3 separate regions of the Homo sapiens genome follow, and all the other regions are linked to region 3. Evidence: promoter capture Hi-C in 16 types of primary human blood cells and fetal thymus (Javierre and others, 2016). All regions are on one chromosome and are shown on one strand. The core of a region is centred on a gene start or on the middle of the fragment in contact, and the rest is flanking DNA. Distances in the headings are between cores, read along the strand shown. Region 1 overlaps ATXN2 (ataxin 2). Region 2 overlaps ATXN2 (ataxin 2). Region 3 holds the start of BRAP (BRCA1 associated protein).

Region 1 (3,695 bases), core at 1,102-3,601, 210 kb before region 3:
AATATGATATACTTAGTAGATGATAAGTATTTGAACATAATCCAACAACCATTCATGATTAAAAAGAAAACAAACCCACCTCTGCAAATTAGGAACTGAAGTAACACCTAACTGTATGCTTAATAGTGAAAGACAATGTCTCACCCCTAAAAATGGGAGCATGGCAAAATCTCATGCCTTTTTCAGTAATGCACCAGTACAATAAGACAAAAAAAAAAAACCCAAAAACACCAACATGGTGATTAGATCATGATTGTATGTTTAAGTCTTAAAGGGCTGCCAGAAACAGTGGGTTTACCAACACATCAAGACACAAGGTCAATATTCAAAAATCAAGTGCATCTCTATTTACGAATAAACAAACGTTGAAAGTTTTTAAAATATAACTCACAACAGCACAAAACAGATGAAATATTAAGGGATAAATTTAAGAAAGCAGGCACAAAACTGATACAAAGAAAACTAGAAAACACTGGTGAAACTTAAGACTTAAATAAATGGAGCAGTATATGATGACCTCAATGAAGATTCCATATTGTTAAGATATTTCTCCCAGAACTGATATAAAGATTCAGTGCACAATCCCAAGCTGATTCTAAAATTTATTTGCAAATTCAAAGAACGCAGAATAAGAGTAATTTTGACGAGAATAAAACTGGGAGACTCATATGAACTTAAAGGTTGGTTACAAAGTAACAGCAATAAAGAGAGAATTGGCATAAGGATATATACAAAGATCAATACAACAAAACAGTTCACAAATAGACACACATACAATACAGTCAACTGAATTCAATAAAGCTACTATGGCTGGGCGCAGTGGCTCATGCCTGTAATCCCAGAACTTTGGGAGGCTGAGATGAGCAGATCACCTGAGGTCAGGAGTTCGAGACTAGCCTGGCCAACATGGTGAGACCCTGTCTCTACTAAAAAAAAAAAAAAAAAAAATACAAATTAGCTGGGTGTAGTGGCGGGCACCTGTAATCCTAGCTACTCGAGAGGCTGAGGCAGAATCGCTTGACCCTGGGAAGTGGAGGTTGCAGTGAGCCAAGGTCACACTACTGCACTCCAGCCTGGGTAACAAGATCGAGACTCTTGTTTCAAGAACAGAAAAAAAATAAAGCCACCAATGGAAAACAGAGGCTGGTGCCAGAGAAACCGAGTAAATATTTATGGTGGAGAAAATGAAGCTAGACCTTTACATCACACCCTACACAAAACCTAACCTGAAATCAACCATATACCTAACCATAAAAACATTCATAACCTAGGGTACGTAAAAGATTTCTTATTATGATACAAAAAAGCATGAACCTTAAGAGAAAAGCTTGATAAATAAGGCTTCATTAAAATTAACAATACTGGCTCTTCAAAAAAAACCGCAGACTGGGAGAAAATATTCACAATATTCTGAGAAAGGACTTGTAACCAGAATATATAAATAACTTAAAATAATTTACTAAAAGTAGTAACTTTATTTTCACAGTAAGAAAAGAAACATGACTTTTTTTTCTTTTTTTTGTGAGACAGGGTCTGGCTCTATTGCCCAGGCTGGAGTGCAGTAGTGCAATCTCAGCTCACTGCAACCTCGATCACCCCTCCATCGCCCTCCAAACCCCCGCAACCTCGCTCAAGCGATTGTCCCACCTCAGCCCCCCAAGTAGCTGGGACCATAGGAATGCGCTTCTGTGCCTGGCTAATTTTTCTTTTTTCTTTTTTTTTTTTGCAAAGACAGGGTTTTGTCATGTTCCTCAGGCTGGTCTCAAACTGTTGGCTCAAATGATCCATCCAGGTTGGCCTCCCAAAGTGCTGGAATTACAGGCGTGAGCCAGTGCACCCAGGCAGAAACATTGAGACAAAAAGAAATTATTAGGACAGGCGCAGTGGCTCACACCTGTAATCTCAGCACTTTGGGAGGCCGAGGCAGGTAGATCACCTGAGGTCAGGAGTTAGAGACCAGCATGACCAACATGGTGAAACCCCACCTACACTAAAAATACAAAATTAGCCAGGCATGGTGGCGCATGCCTGTAATCCCAGCTACTTGGGAGGCTAAGGCGTAAGAATTGCTTGAACCTGGGAGGCGGAGGTTGCAGTGAGCCAAGATGGCACCACTGCGTTCCAGCCTGGGCAATAGAGTGAGATTCCATCAAATAAATAAATAAATAAATAAAATGGAAAAAAGATTTGAACCATTTACTAAAAAAAGGTTGACAGCTGAAAACAAACACACACATGATGAGGTGCTCCTGGATCAGTCATCATCAGAGAAATGTACATTTAAGATCACAATGAGATACCATAAGACACCCATTAGACCTGTTGAAATTAAAAAGATAACACAATACCAAGTGTTGGCAAGGATGCAGAACACATGGAACCTACACATGTACCTGATCAGTTGGAATGTAAAATGACACAATCACTTTAGAAGATTGCTAGTTTCTTATTAATTGAAATATGTATTTACCAGGCAGTGTGTGGTGGCTCACATCTGTAATCCCAACACTTTGGGAGGCTGGGGCGGGTGGATCACTTGTGGTCAGGAGTTCGAGACCAGCCTGGCCAACGTGGTGAAACCCCGTCTCTACTAAAAATACAAAAAAATTAGCCAGGCATGGTGGTGCGCGCCTGTAATCCCAGCTACTTGGGAGGCTGAGGCGGGAGAATTGCTTGAACCCGGGACAGGGAGGTTGCCATGAGCTGAAATCACGCCACTGAACTCCAGCCTGGGCAACAGAGTGAGACTTCATCTCAAAAAAAATAAATAAATAAAAAATAAAATAAATTTTTTAAAAAAATGAAATATGCACTTACCATACCTCAGCAATTCCAATTCTAGGTATTTAACTAAAAGAAATAAAAACACAAACACTTGTACACAAATGCTCACAGCAGCTTCATTCATAATAGCCAAAAGCTGGCAATAACTCAAATGCCCATCGACTAGTAATGGGTAAATTAACTGTGGTATAATCATAAAATGAAATGCTACCCAGCAATAAAAAGGAATAAGCTGGCTGGGCACGGTGACTCACACCTGTAATCCCAGCACTTTGGGAGGCCAAGGCAGGTGGATCATTTGGGGTCAGGAGTTTGAGACCAGCCTGGCCAACATGGTGAAATCCCGTCTCTGCTAAAAAAAAAAAAAAAAAAAAAAAAAAGAGAGAGAGACAAAAATTAGCCAGGTGTGGTGGCACGTGCCTGTAATCCCAGCTACTTGGGAGGCTGAGGCAGTGGAATTGCAGACCAATTCTGGGACACAGAACAAGACTCCATCTCAAAAACAAACAAACAAACAAAAAGGAATAAGCTGATACTAACATGAAATTCAAATTACTACACTGTTTAGGACACACATATGAAATTATATACCAAGCTTGTCCAACTTGCGTCCTGGGACGGCTTTGAATGTGGCCCAACACAAATTCATAAACTTTCTTAAAACATTATAAGTTTTGCTATTTTTTTTTGTTTTGTTCATCAGCTATCATTAGTGTTACTGTATTTTATGTGTGGCCCAACACAATTCTTCTTCCAATATGACCCAGGGAAGCCAAAAGATTGAACACCTCTGTTACACGCTGTTTGATTCCATTTATTAAAAAAAAAAAAAAAATCTAGGGGCTGGCTGAGGTGGCTCACATCTGTAATCCTAGCACTCTGGGAGGCTGAGGTGAGCTCAAGAGTTCGAG
Region 2 (3,549 bases), core at 345-2,844, 180 kb before region 3:
TCAGTCACAAAAAGAAATGAAGTACTGAAACATGCTCCAACATGGATGAACTTTTATAACACTACTCTGAGTGAAAGAAGCCAGTCATAAAAGCCACATATTTTATTATTCCATTTGTATGAAATGGAATTTGCCCCAAATAAGCCCATCCATAGAGACAGAAAGTAGATTAACGGTTGCTTAGGGTTGGGAGTAGGGGAAAGAGAAGGGCTGGAGGCAAATGTGGAACGACTGCTAAACTGGGCACGGGGTTTCTTTTGGGGGTGAAGAGTATGTTTTAAAATCAACTGAGAAGACGGTTGTACAACATTGTGAATATTTTAAAAACCACTGATTTATACACTTTAAATGGTTGATTTATATATGTAAATTATATCTCATTAAAAACCACTGATTTATACACTTTAAACGGTTTATTTATATATGTAAATTATATCTCAATAAAGCTGTTATAAAAACATGCTAATTCACATGCTTCAAAGTAGAAATGTTTTTTCTTCATGAGATATTAAATTCAATCCAAGTGTAGTATAAGAGGAGACTGAATGATGTTAAAAAAAATAATGCTGAGGAAAAAATTCAAATGGGGAAGAATACCTACAGCAAGACATCATTGTCCCTCTCCCTCTCCCCCCCTCCCCCTCCCCCTCCTTCTCCTTCTCCCCACGGTCTCCCTCTCCCTCTCTTTCCACGGTCTCCCTCTGATGCCGAGCCGAAGCTAGACTGTACTGCTGCCATCTCGGCTCACTGCAACCTCCCTGCCTGATTCTCCTGCCTCAGCCTGCCTAGTGCCTGTGATTGCAGGCCCGCGCCGCCACGCCTGACTGGTTTTCGTATTTTTTTGGTGGAGACGGGGTTTCGCTGTGTTGGCCGGGCTGGTCTCCAGCTCCTAACCGCGAGTGATCTGCCAGCCTCGGCCTCCCGAGGTGCCGGGATTGCAGACGGAGTCTCGTTCACTCAGTGCTCAATGGTGCCCAGGCTGGAGTGCAGTGGCGTGATCTCGGCTCGCTACAACCTCCACCTCCCAGCCACCTGCCTTGGCCTCCCAAAGTGCCGAGATTGCAGCCTCTGCCCGGCCGCCACCCCGTCTGGGAAGTGAGGAGCGTCTCTGCCTGGCCACCCATCGTCTGGGATGTGAGGAGCCCCTCTGCCCGGCTGCCCAGTCTGGGAAGTGAGGAGCACCTCTTCCCGGCCGCCATCCCGTCTAGGAAGTGAGGAGCGTCTCTGCCCGGCCACCCGTCGTCTGAGATGTGGGGAGCGCCTCTGCCCCGCTGCCCCGTCTGGGATGTGAGGAGCGCCTCTGCCCGGCCGCGACCCCGTCTGGGAGGTGAGGAGCGTCTCTGCCTGGCCGCCCCGTCTGAGAAGTGAGGAGCCCCTCTGCCCGGCAGCCGCCCCGTCTGAGAAGTGAGAAGCCCCTCCGCCTGGCAGCCACCCCGTCTGGGAAGTGAGGAGCATCTCCACCCGGCAGCCAACCCGTCCGGGAGGGAGGTGGGGGTCAGCCCCCGCCCGGCCAGCCGCCCCATCCGGGAGGGAGGTGGGGGGTCAGCCCCCGCCCAGCCAGCCGCCCCGTCCGGGAGGTGGGGGGCACCTCTGCCCGGCCGCCCCTTCTGGGAAGTGAGGAGCCCCTCTGCCCGGCCACCACCCCGTCTGGGAGGTGTACCCAACAGCTTATTGAGAACGGGCCATGATGACAATGGCGGCTTTGTGGAATAGAAAAGGGGGAAAGGTGGGGAAAAGATTGAGAAATCGGATGGTTGCTGCGTCTGTGGAGAAAGAAGTAGACATGGTAGACTTTTCATTTTGTTCTGTACTAAGAAAGATTCTTCTGCCTTGGGATCCTGTTGATCTATGACCTTACCCCCAACCCTGTGCTCTCTGAAACATGTGCTGTGTCACTCAGGGTTAAATGGATTAAGGGCGGTGCAAGATGTGCTTTGTTAAACAGATGCTTGAAGGCAGCATGCTCGTTAAGAGTCATCACCACTCCCTAATCTCAAGTACCCAGGGACACAAACACTGCGGAAGGCCGCAGGGTCCTCTGCCTAGGAAAACCAGAGACCTTTGTTCACTTTTTATCTGCTGACCTTCCCTCCACTATTGTCCTATGACCCTGCCAAATCCCCCTCTGCGAGAAACACCCAAGAATGATCAATTAAAAAAAAAAAAAAGACTTTATAGCAAATTTAAGATTATGCAAAATATCATCTATTGCTCACAGATATATTCATATGCAGTATAAATATAAAGAACTGCACAGAAAAGAAACCCTTCCTTTTGGAAGGAAACAGGGGGAAGCAGCTGAGGAGGGGCAGATACATAAGAGGAGTTTAACTGTGTTAGAATGCTTTATTTACTAAGCTGGGTAGTGGGCACATGATCATATTCAATATTCTTTGTATCATTTGTATGTGTTAACTATTGTTTAACAAATTGAAAAACTTTTTTTTTTTTTTTTTTTTTTTGAGATGCAGTCTTGCTCTGTCGCCCAGGATGGAGTGGAGTGGTGTGATCTCGGCTCACTGCAACCTCTGTCTCCTGGGTTCAAGCGATTATCCTGCCTCAGCCTGCCAAGTAGCTGGGATTACAAGTGTGCGCCACCATGCCTAGCTAATTTTTCTATTTTTGGTCAAGACAGGGTTTCACCATGTTGACCAGGCTGGTCTCGAACTCCTGACCTTAGGTGATCTGCCCACCTCGGCCTCCCAAAGTGCTAGGATTACAGGTGTGAGCCACCGTGCCCGCCAACAAATGAAAACTTAGGTTAACAACTGTTAATAGCATTAAAGCTGAATAGATACATGTGCTAAAGTATGAAATAATAAGTAGTATTTTGAATGTTACCAATAAGTCAAGAATGAAGCTATTGTTAACATTTAGAAAGCTAAAACACAGGCTGAGGAAAGGCTACCTTTGCCTTTGGTTCACTCATCCTTTAATTCAGCTACTTTTTTTAAAAGGCTGGTATTTAGATTTTCCTTTCTAAGAAGCTAAGTTTCAAGAAGATTTATTGGTTGGTCTCAAAATCTACCTCGATACCTATAGTAAATAACATGCAAAAGAATGAAATGACAATCAAGGAGAGATGTTAAGTAAAGCCTGTGCTAAGACAGAGAAATAATGTTACAGAAAGATTTTGACCACAATATATTTGTGTACAAAGTATAAATCTCCAACTACCTCAGAACACCAGAGTCCAGTACATCTTCCATTTGCCACACTAGATTATTAATGACTTGGCCTTGCTCTACTAATATCTAGCTTCACTGAACAAAGTACAAATGACCATCAAATAGTAAGCTGTGCTATGGTGGTTTCAAATGTCAGGGCTATACTCTCATTTGATACCTACATATTGTTGTTACCAAATCTCATGATTTTAGTTATCCCACTTAAAGGATAGGCAAAGACCACTTTAAAAATGTTCTGCTTTCTACATATATGGTTTGATGTTTCTGACTGTATACATAACGCATTTTTATAAATAGATAAATCTTTAGTAATGCTTATTTTCTAAAACTCAAATTCATCAGTTAGTACAATACTTACCCT
Region 3 (3,868 bases), core at 233-2,732:
CACATCTTCTTGTAATACTTTCCCAAATTGTTTCTCCTTTCCTTCACAGCACTTACCACAGTTGTAATTCTACACATATTCTGCACTTATTTAATTCATCTGTTTCCTCCATGATACTGCTGGTGCCATTAAAACAGAGACGCTGTCTGATTCAGCACACAAGGAAGGCTCCAGCAGATATGAGCATAAGTTTTTTTTTTGTTTTTTTTTTTGAAATGGACTTTATCTCTTGTCGCCCAGGCTGGAGTGCAGTGCCACAATCTTGGCTCACCGCAACCTCCACCTCCCGGGTTCAAGCGATTCTCCTGCCTCAGCCTCCCCAGTAGCTGGGATTACAGGCACCTGTCACCACGCCCAGCTAATTTTTGTATTTTTAGTACAGACAGGGTTTCACCATGTTGGCCAGGCTGGTCTTGAACTCTCAACCTCAGGTGACCCGCCCGCCTCGGCCTCCCAAAGTGTGAGGATTACAGGCGTGAGCCACCGCGCCCGGCCAAGTATTTCTTGAATGAATGTTAGTTAATTATCTGAGGACCAAGGAACAGAGCCAGAGCTGCATTCCCCACTAAGGAGCTTCCTCACTTGTGTTAATGGTGTAAAAAGCTCAGACTCAAGTCCAGCTCACTGAGTTAGAATCCCAGTTTCACCCATTACAGATAACCTTGGGCAAATCAATTAATCACTAAGCTTCAGTTTCCCAATGTGTAAGAGGTACATGTCACATCCATCTGCCTCTTAGGGCTGTTGCAAAGATAATTAAAGAATACAATACACAAAAGGTGCTTAGTACAGTGCTGGGATATAGGAAGTGTCCAAATTTTAGTTATGACTATGGTTAGGGGGCACTTCAATGGATATCGTTCCAAAAGGGAACAATTTAATTAACCCAGGGACCGTCCAGCGTTGCTGGGGACCCAGTCCCTGCCTTTACGAAGCCCATAGGGAAGCAAGTGAGACAAACACACCACTCGACTATCTCGAGAGGGAGACGCGCCAGGTATAAACTAAATGCCCTCAGACGGCACAGGGAGGGAGGTTCGGGGCAGGGCTTCCCTGAGATAACAAACGGGAAGGCCTCTCAAAGGCGGATGGGAAAGAGAGGGATCCCGATTACCTCTCCGTGTCTTCCTGGGCAACAGCCCTCGCCGCGGGCTTTTCCCGGGCCAGTGCTTTGGGAAGGGAAGCCCTCCGGGCCCAGACCCGGCTACAGGGAATGCGGCGAGGCCGCGGGACTCACCCGCGGCGCTGAAGCCGAAGCCGGCGGGGACAGGCGAGTGTTCCGCGAGCTCCAATCGGATAACAACCAGTGACACACTCATAGGGCAGGCGCTGGCCGGCGCGGGCCCCGGCGGGCTCAGGCGAGGCTGGAAGGCGAGCCGAGAGGCCGAGCGGCCCGGGGCCGGCAGCGCCGCCACCACCTCAATGCAGTTGCCGCCGCCTCAGCAGCAGCAGCTCCTCGAACAGCCCTCGGAGCCACAACAACCTCCACTTCCGCCTCCCGGCCGCCGTCGCTGACCTGCGGTTTACGCATGCGCGCAGGACCGCGCACAGCGATTGGGCGGCGTGGCAGGGGTCACCCACTGCTCTTCCGGACGCAATTTTGAGGAGGTCGGAGCGGAAGGACGTCGTGGAGATTGCTTGCGCTGGGGTGCCACACTTAGGCTGAGCTGCAGGTTTTCGCACAGTCGCGAGTTAACCTCTGCTTGCTCCAGAGGCCTCGTCCTAATCCACCTCGGCTGACGGCGCGGGATCCCTGGCTCCGCGAGGTCTCCGAATTGTCCGAGCTATCTGCTATGCAGAACTTTGCCCCTTTTGTTGTGTTTGACTCCTGTCTCTAACCCTAGTCTGGATGGTTTTGTTTCTGTCCCACTTTACAGATAGGTACAACGAGGCTCAGAGAGGTGAAGTTCCTTCTAAGGGGCCGTAGAGAGTGGAGAGTCGATCGCTGTTCAGATAGCGATCTGGCTGGGCGCGGTGGCTCACGCCTGTAATCCCAGCCCAGAGGCTTAGGCGGGCGAATCACCTCAGGTCAGCAGTTCGAGACCAACCTGGCCAACATGGTGAAACCTCGTCTCTACTGAACATACAAAAAATTAGCCGGGCTTGGTGGCGCGCGTCTGTAGTCCAAGCTACTTGGGAGGCTGAGACAGGAGAATCGCTTGAACCCGGGAGGCGGAGGTTGCAGTGAGTCGAGATAGTGCTAGTGCACTCCCGCCTGGGCAACAAGAGCGAAACTCCGTCTCAAAAAAAAGAGAGAAAAGATGGTGATCTGCTGGTTACGAGCATAGTGCTGCAGTTAGACCGGGGTCCTCCTCCCCACCCTGTCACTTCACAAATGTTTACTGAGAGTCTAGACACCCTTGGGATGCTTGAGATACGTTGGCGTATAAGATAAACACAGTTCCTGTCCGTACTATGAGGTTGACCTACATCAGCAGTTGTGCAGTCTTGAACTAGTATAGTCATTGCATAAAGTTGGCATGATATCATGTCCTCATGCAGTTGTGAGGATGAAATGGAATTATGTATATGGAGATAACATTAGCTTTTCTGAGGCTCAGCATTCTTTCCAGTATGTCAGAGTGGCTTTTGTATGTAGATACTGACACAATCAATGCATATGGGACACATACATGACAGGATGCTACTCTAGGTACATTGTATAATGATACATATGTAAGTACATAGTACATTCTAGATGTGTGTGTGTGTGGACATAGTGCGTTCTAGATGTGTGTGTATCTGGACTATGACATGACCACAAGATACATGCGTATATAGATCTTGTGACTACATCCTATGAAATACGTTTCCATATGCCCTGTTTAAATCAGGGTTTCTCAACTCTGCACTATTAACATTTTGGGTCCTGATTATTCTTTTTTGTTTTTGGCAAGGGGGCGGGGTGTCCTGAGCATTGTAGAGTGTTTAGAAACATCCCTGGCCTGACCCACTAGATGTCAGTAGCACCTCTCCCCAGGTGGTGACAACCAATAATGTCTCTGGACCTTTCCAGATGTCTCCTTGGGGTTAGAAAACATAACCCTGTTGAAGAATCACAGGGTTATGTGAAAGTGCATAAACCATACACACATACTGTATGCATAAAACCTATGAGACCTCTTGTGAACTTTTTTAGTATATTACTATAGTAGATAACATTTCAACATGTGCCAGGTACTAATTTGAGTGTTTCATATACCTTGTGTCATGCAATGGTCACAACAACTTTATGAAACTGGTACTATGTCCCTGTTCTACAGAGGAGTAACCTGAGGCTTGGAGGAAGAGTAACTGGCTCAGGATTTCACAGGTAGTAGTGGCAGAGCTGGAACTGAAATTCAGGCAATCTGAATCCAGAACGAACATTCTTTATCTCTTTACCAAACAAACCTTTTTTTTTTTTTGTATTTTGAGACGGAGTCTCACTCTGTCGCCCAGGCTGGAGTGCAGTGGTGCCATCTCGGCTCACTGCAACCTCGGCTTCCTGGGTTCAAGCTTCCTGCCTCAGTCTCCCAAGTAGCTGGGACTACAGGCACACAGCACTGCACCCAGCTGATTTTTGTATTTTTTTTTAGAGATAGGGTTTCACCATGTTGGTCAGACTTGTCTCGAACTCCTGACCTTGTGATCCGCCCACTTCGGCCTCCCAAAGTGCTGGGATGACAGGCGTGAGCCACCGCGCCCGGCCCCCCCAAAGGCATTTTTCGTCTCTACTAAGCCCTCACACAAAATATACAAGTGTGTAAGTAAATTTCTCTTTCTATCATAAACATTGGCCTTGGCATAGGAACGTTAAGTAAAACTGAAAATGCAAATGAACCTTGACATTTTTAGTTTCAAATATTGCCCCCAAATTCAGCAAATT

The links. The method cuts DNA at HindIII sites, captures the fragments that hold promoters and counts their contacts. A CHiCAGO score of 5 or more calls a contact.
Region 1: a fragment that was not itself captured here is called in contact with the fragment with the promoter of BRAP in region 3 in 2 of 17 cell types (erythroblasts and megakaryocytes); the score reaches 6.4 in erythroblasts.
Region 2: a contact is called between a fragment that was not itself captured here and the fragment with the promoter of BRAP in region 3, in 3 of 17 cell types (megakaryocytes, erythroblasts and endothelial precursors). The highest score is 7.4, in megakaryocytes.

The regions. Positions count from the first base shown.
Region 1 is chr12:111,476,253-111,479,947 of GRCh38, forward strand. The region is part of intron 18 of ATXN2 (ataxin 2); the gene reads right to left. Among named protein-coding and RNA genes, the nearest start is that of SH2B3, 72 kb to the left of the region's middle. The HindIII fragment of the contact is 2,052 bases long and covers 1,326-3,377 here.
Region 2 is chr12:111,506,003-111,509,551 of GRCh38, forward strand. ATXN2 (ataxin 2) reads right to left here. Exons shown (of 25, transcript NM_001372574.1): 14 at 3,547-3,549. Among named protein-coding and RNA genes, the nearest start is that of ATXN2, 92 kb to the right of the region's middle. The HindIII fragment of the contact is 4,535 bases long and covers 1-3,549 here.
Region 3 is chr12:111,684,474-111,688,341 of GRCh38, forward strand. It overlaps BRAP (BRCA1 associated protein), which reads right to left and starts at 1,483. Exons shown (of 12, transcript NM_006768.5): 1 at 1,238-1,483. The coding sequence starts at 1,319. It overlaps ACAD10 (acyl-CoA dehydrogenase family member 10), which reads left to right and starts at 1,580. Exons shown (of 21, transcript NM_025247.6): 1 at 1,580-1,766. RefSeq lists enhancers at 1-507, 508-1,209, 1,210-1,911 and a silencer at 1,256-1,355. The HindIII fragment of the contact is 2,811 bases long and covers 686-3,496 here.